Linked DNA regions of Homo sapiens: region 2 is linked to region 1. The links are contacts of gene promoters, found by promoter capture Hi-C in blood cells and fetal thymus (Javierre and others, 2016). All regions are on one chromosome and are shown on one strand. Each heading gives the region's core, a stretch centred on a gene start or on the middle of the fragment in contact. The rest is flanking DNA. Distances are from core to core; before and after follow the strand shown. Region 1 holds the start of MKI67 (marker of proliferation Ki-67). Region 2 overlaps CLRN3 (clarin 3).

Region 1 (3,322 bases), core at 421-2,920:
ATTTCACCTGATGCCTGAATGATGGAAATCACACAAGCTTGAGGAAGGGGAGAACTTTCCCATTGTAAACTTCCAAGTGTGTAAGAAGTACCAAGGTGAACAAAGGCTTGGAATGCCTTAGGCGGGAGGAACAAGGTAGGGGATGGGGTTGGGAGGACAGGGTGAGGCCGGGATGGGGTTGGGAGGACAGGGTGAGGCCTGAATCCCGTGTGGTCTGGGAAATGACCACACGGGAAATGACCCCCCTTCTCAGGCCTCTAGTGGGACACATGTCAGAGGCTGATGGGGCACTGTCAGCAACTATACCTGTTATACAGGGACAGGGTTATTACCACCACCAAACAGGACAGCAATATAAGAGGAAACGTTCTCGAATTCCAGGCAGGAAGACTTTCTGTCCCATTTTCCTATTGCCACAAGGAGCCAAGAGACAAGTGTATGGCTTCCTTCCTTCATTCTCTGTGTCCCCAGTGGCCAGGGATGCCCACTGTGGAGGCACCCGGGGGCGCACAGTGTCTTCAGACGCCTGCCTGCAGCCAGTGACATATGAAGATCATCTACATCTTTCTTTACCGCAACATTAGCAAATCGATTTTTTTAATTGGCTTGATTTTTAAAACCACTTAAACATACAAACTAGCATCAAATTTATACTTACAAAACAAAAAAACACAACTATGTCAACTTAGTAACGAATGGGAGAAGCACCAAGGAAAAGTGACGGCAGGACCCAATCCTAGAGCGCGTTTCTGGACTTTATTCTGTGACTAAGGTATTTTCCTCTTTCTCAGCTAAAACGTCCGCGCGCGCCCGCGGGGCTCACCTTCCAAACAAGCAGGTGCTGAGGCTCAGGGGAAAGTGGGGACCGTCGACCCCGCTCCTTTTGATAGTAACCAGGCGTCTCGTGGGCCACATTTTCTAAACAGTAAGTTGAGTATAATCCGTAGGGGAAGGCCAGGTATAATCCGTAGGGGAAGGCCAGAAGCAAATTTACAACTCTTCCACTGCAAAAGAGGTGCGAGTTACTCTGATAGCAAAGGAGCTAAGAAGGGCCCCGTGCCCAATTCACCTATCCCCGGCCACAGAAGCGCACACCGCAGCTAGCTAGCGGGGACCCCAGGACGATCCGACCGCAGCCCCCGGCGCCCCAAAGTCCGGCAGCTGGGGTGTTGTCGCCAGCGCCTGCGCCTCCTGGGAGCTTCCACCGAGACGCCCTCGCCAGAGCCCAGGAGGAGTCGGGCCCAGGCCGCGCGTCTGTCCCCTGCCCGTCCCCGCAGAGCTCGGGGGGTCCCCGCGGCTCAGCCCTCGACCCCGGACAGCTCCCAGGAGTCCCGGCCGCAGCTCACCTGGGACGATCCGGCCCGCAAGGCCACTTGTCGAACCACCGCTCGTCAAGTCGCACCCAAAGTCCGCCGCAGGAGGAGCCGGCGCCGCGCTCACCTCCGCCCGGTAAGCTGCGCCCGCCACGCTCCGCACACACCGGGCCGCAGCCCGCGGGGTCGCGTTCGCTGCACCCCGGCCTGCAGTCCCCGCTGCTCCCGCCGCCGCCTCTGACGGGGACCCGGTGGCCCTACAGGCTACGTCCCCGGGCGCCCGGCTCTAGCGGCTCCCACCGAGTCGAGTCCTCCCGCCCGCCCGCCCGCCCGCAGCGTCAGCCCTCCACTTCCTTCTTCCAGCCCGGCGCGCCCGCCCAATTCAAACGAAAACGAAGATTCAAATTCTGGCGCTAAGCGCTGCGATTGAACGGGAAAGCGCGGCATGGGACCAATAGGAAGGGAGCGCAGGGCGTGGGCGGGGAGGGGGCGGGGAAACCGGGCTCGCGGGGCGGGGCTGGCGTGTCCGCGGGCGAGCCACTCACGCATCCGGAGGAAAATACCTGGGTGCATCCCCGGCGAGGGCGGCTGGCGGAGGGCAGAGGTGGAACACGCTCCCACCGAGATAACCCGTCCTGCTATCCTTTTCTTAAAGGACCAAACATCTGGGACACTATAACATTACTCATTGCCAGAAGATTTAAAACTGCTAAAAATTAAAAACAGGCGGGACGCGGTGGCTCACGCCGGTAATCCCCGCACTTTGGGAAGCTGAAGCAGGAAGATCCCTTGAGCCCGGGAGTTCAGAACCAGCCTGGGCCACCTGGAGAGAACCCATCTCTACAAAAAATTCGCCAGGCGTGGTGGCGCCCCTGTAGTTCTAGCTACTGGGACAGCTGAGGTGGGAGGATCGCTTGAGCCGGGGCGGTCGAGGCTGCAGTGAGCTGAGATCGCGCCACTGCACTCCAGCCTGGGCGACAGAGCAAAGCCCTGTCTCAAAAAAAAAAAAAAAAAAAAAAAAAAAATCGAAACCTTCCTCTTCAGTGCATACATCTTACCAAACACAAAAACAACCAATTATATAAAGTAGTTTGGTGTGTCTTTTCCTGCTATACGTGTATTCTCTTTTTCAAAAGCACAGAAAAAAAGGTCATAACATACACAACACGATTCTATACTTTGTGCTCTCTGCTTTTAAATATCCTGAGGCTATCTCCACTGAACACATTCTCGCTTTTACTCTCTGATGGCTGCAGAGCACTGGGCTTCGGGAAACCATAATTTACTTAATCATTACTATTGCCACATACTTAGGTTTACAATGTTTTGTTATTAGAAAACATTCTTCAATTGAAATGGCTTGTGCATGCCAAGATGGGTGAATCCTAAAATAATTCTACACAGGATTCTATCGGGGTCTGCTTCAGTTGCGCTGGTGGCCATGTGGGCTCAGTAGGCCACCTGGGGTGAAGTGAATGGAGCCTAAACACGCTTTTGGTGACAACGGCCTCTCTGCCCCATCTCACCTCCTCCAGCTCCCCAGCAACCCTTGGAGCTTGGCTCCCTTGATCAGGGAGGCCTCGATGCAGGGGACCCCTGAGGACTTCCTATTCCTTTCAGAGAGTCCATAAGGTCAAAACCATTTATCTAATGACCCTCTGTGTTACTTGCCCTTCTCATTCTCATGCTCCCAAGAGTGTGGGGTGTGGTTCTGCAAATGCAGAAGCAGTGAGGAGACTCCCACTGTCTCCGTTTCAACCAGGTATTACAGAGATTTGCAAAAATGTGAACTAAAGCGCTGTTTTCATTTTGTTGTTTTTTTTCCATAAAAATAAGTTATTGGTGTTAGCATGAAATAGGTGCATCACTATCTTAAAATGAATCAATAAATGAATATTTTTAAATTCCTTAGCCTTAACTTAAAATATATAAATATAGCTAGATATAACCCATCCACATTAACAAAAATTCCTGGTGGTTCTCAATAATTCTTAAGAGTGTAAAGGGAC
Region 2 (3,322 bases), core at 351-2,850, 250 kb before region 1:
AGGGCATCACAGATGGAAGAAGCCGCCTTAAAAAGACCCTGGGTGGGCAGTGGGCCTGGAGCACCTGGGACTGTGAGATACAAGCTCAGCTGCTGGGGAGAGGTCCCAGGGTCCTAAGAACTGGGTACGGAGACTGGGCTGCCCTGAGAGCCACAAATGCCATCCCAGGAGCTTGAATCTCATGGCATATGATGCCACTGGCAAGTGTCTAATCAGGAGGAATCTCCTTACAAAACTCATTAGAGAAGAGAACTTATTGCATGTTTATGTCTTCCCTTTTTTATTCTTCACAATATCCTCCACTAGAAAACATTCTTTTTTGTTTGTTTTGAGATGGGGTCTCACTCTCCCCTGGGCTCTGAAGTGCAGTGGTACAATCTCAGCTTACTGAACCTCCACCTCCCAGGCTCCATTGATCCTACCACCTCAGCCTCCTGACTAGCTGAGACTACAGGTATATGCCACCATGCTTGACTAATTTTTTATGGAGACCGGCTTTTTCTATGTTGCCCAGGCTAGTCTCGAACTCCTGGACTCAAGTGATCCACCTGCCTCGGCCTCCAAAAGTGCCGAGTGTGAGCTACTCTGCCGAGCCCTAAAGAACATTCTTCAGTATAGACTTGGGAGAGCCACTTTTGTCTAGTTAAAAGAACGTAGTTCTGGAGTCAGAGAGAACAGGATTGGAAATCCCAGCTAGATGAACTTGAACAAGTCATGTAGCCTTTCTGAGCCTCATTCCTCATCTTTCAAAGGGAATGAGATAGAGACAAAAAAAAAAATGTAGATTAGGGCTTTCGCGGTTGCCTAGTGCTGGAAGTGGGCTGGGAGGGGGTGATAGCTAAAGGGCATGGGGTTTCTTTTCAAGGTGATCAAAATATTCTAAAATTGGCAGTGGTAAGCCTTGCCCATGTCTGAGAACATACAAAAAACCATGGAATTGTATACTTTAATGGGTGAATTGTATGGTGTGTGACTCATGTGTCAATAAAGCTGTTAAAAGAAAGGTTTTGGAGGATAAGGATGCCTATGTTCCAGGATCTGTGATGAGGCCGGTGAGCAGGCTCACCCAGTGAGGTCTGATACGCACGGGGGCCGCCAGGGGATCCTGGCCACGGAAGCCCTTTGAGACTCCGTCTGCCGCCATGTACCCGGAACTCAGTGGACATCAAATGTATCCTGCTATAACCCACACCCAGGGAAACTTTCCAAACGGTCCATCAAAAGGCCTTAATTAGAGGGGTTTTGTATGAGGAGAATGTTTTAAACACTCCTTGATGACAGATCTTCATCCTCAATGTAATGGTTTTATTTCTTAATAATTTGTCCGTACAAAAGCCCTGACCCTCTGAAGCTCTCCAGGTGCCTCACAGCCTTAATTATCTTTCATTTTCCTCTTGTGAAGTTTCTTATAAAAGCTTAATCATAAAGGGGCAGGATGTATATAGTCTAAATGCTTTTTTCCAGAGCGGGCTGCCTAGAACTTTGATTTGAATGGGGAGGGGCCGACACACAGACACAAAATGCAAACCTGAGTCCCCTTTAGTGATGAGATGCCCAGAGCCTCTACCTGCCAGGCTTCTCCAGCCTCTGGGACAGAAGGATTTATAGGGGCTGGAGGAAGCCCCGGGGTAGATGAGGAGCTTCGGAAGGCTCACGGACCCTGGCTTCTGTCCTGGCCTGTGACCATCGGGCCCTGTGACCTCCTGATCACTTTCCACTCTCTGAGTTCCTCAGATGAGACACAAATGTATTTGGAACAGGCAGTCTGCAAAGTTGTCTCTGGCTCCAAGCTTCTCTCAGGGGACAATTTTATCCCCTGAGGCCAGGATACAGCCTCATCAGGTCAGTGTGGTGTAGAAGGTAGGCTGAGGTCAGAGGTCACGGGAACCTAGGAAGTGAGACTGCTGTTTGTCTCCTCAAAGCAGAACCTGCTTCTTTCTGTCAGAAACAAGCCAGGAAACCCACTTCCTTCCCTACCCAACATCTGCTGGCCAAGCAGAGGTAGTTCAAAACCAGCCGCTAGGAGTTTGGAGCACTTCCTTCTGGCCCCAGGACTCCCAGAAGTCAGTCTGATCATGCTGTCCCACAGCCATGACCCAAGGCAAGAATTAAGACATCTCTGTATACAAGCCCTTCTGCAGGCTGAGCCTCCTGGAAACTGAGAGTTTCAGTAAGTTCTCCAACCCTCAAAGCTCCTGTGAGAAAATCAGGAACCCCCAAAGGGCTACTTTGGGCAAAAGTCAGGCCTATCAACACTGTTAGGGTCAAGAGGCCTCAAGGGGCATTTAGAGGAAGCTAAGCTGTGCTGAGGCCTTCTCCCAGGCAGGCATCAGAATGCAATCTGCTCCTTACACATCAACCTCTCAGGTTGTTTTCTGCCCACCTCACAGCCTCCCTCTGTGTGTTAGAACTTGCTCCTGAGCCAGGAAAGGAAGGTGGCAGGAATTCCCTCTCCGTCCAACAATTCTTTGTGGATAGGAGTAGGCAGGGCTACGGGGAGGCTCTCAGGTCCCTGTTTCTCATGTTTTCCTTCACAAACATGCATGAGGCCTCTGCTATATGCAAAGCCAGCCCATACTCTGCTGCGGAGGAGCAGAGATATGGAGCCACAGCCTAGTGGCAAAGGCAGTGGACTTTGAACCCTGCAGGCTGTAGACACAGCAATGCTGGGTCCCTGTTGTTCGGCCGGCGCCACACCTGGCCCTCTACTCTGGTCCTGGCGCCTGTTTTCCCTCCAGGAATGCAGGCTTCCTTCCCCACTCACCCCTGCGGCTGGGGAAGGGCCGATTCCAGCCCCAGCTCCAGGATGGGCAGGTAGCCTTGGCCCATTAGTGGATGGCTTGGGGAATTCAACCCTGCCAGCCACAGAGATTGGTCAAGGGATGGGAGAAGGGCAATGCCAGTGCAAAGTAGCCCAGGACTTTCTCTGAATTTGGAGGAAATGAGAAATTTTTTTCTCCTGGGGCTGCCACCATCAGCAATGAGCCCAGAGTGGCCAGCAGTCATCTTATCTTCAAGAGGATTGATCTGGCCAATTAATGAATGATGGAGTCAACGCTGAGGATTTCAATAGATGGAGCAATGGCAGGAAACAGTCCTCACGACACAGGCCGAGACCTTGACTCGAGCTGTGTCTGAAGCCACTGCTTCTCGTACTTTCTTAGTTGCATGAGCAAAAGTAAAAATAATCTATCTCTTTACCCTGGCCATAAGTACCAATTGGTTTACCTTGGTTTGATTGACTGGGGTGAACCATCATCATACAAGTAGCTTAGGCAAGGGACTCTGGCATTCAGGTGAGTATATCTGATTGTGTAACAAA

Evidence for each region. Contacts are between HindIII fragments. The CHiCAGO score rates a contact against its expected background, and 5 or more counts as called.
Region 2: a contact is called between a fragment that was not itself captured here and the fragment with the promoter of MKI67 in region 1, in 1 of 17 cell types (monocytes). The highest score is 6.8, in monocytes.

The regions. Positions count from the first base shown.
Region 1 is chr10:128,124,753-128,128,074 of GRCh38, forward strand. MKI67 (marker of proliferation Ki-67) reads right to left here and starts at 1,671. Exons shown (of 15, transcript NM_002417.5): 1 at 1,347-1,671; 2 at 824-1,004. The coding sequence starts at 915. RefSeq lists a silencer at 1,451-1,820 and an enhancer at 1,931-2,160. The HindIII fragment of the contact is 8,920 bases long and covers 36-3,322 here.
Region 2 is chr10:127,878,798-127,882,119 of GRCh38, forward strand. All of the region lies in intron 2 of CLRN3 (clarin 3), which reads right to left. Among named protein-coding and RNA genes, the nearest start is that of CLRN3, 12 kb to the right of the region's middle. The HindIII fragment of the contact is 375 bases long and covers 1,414-1,788 here.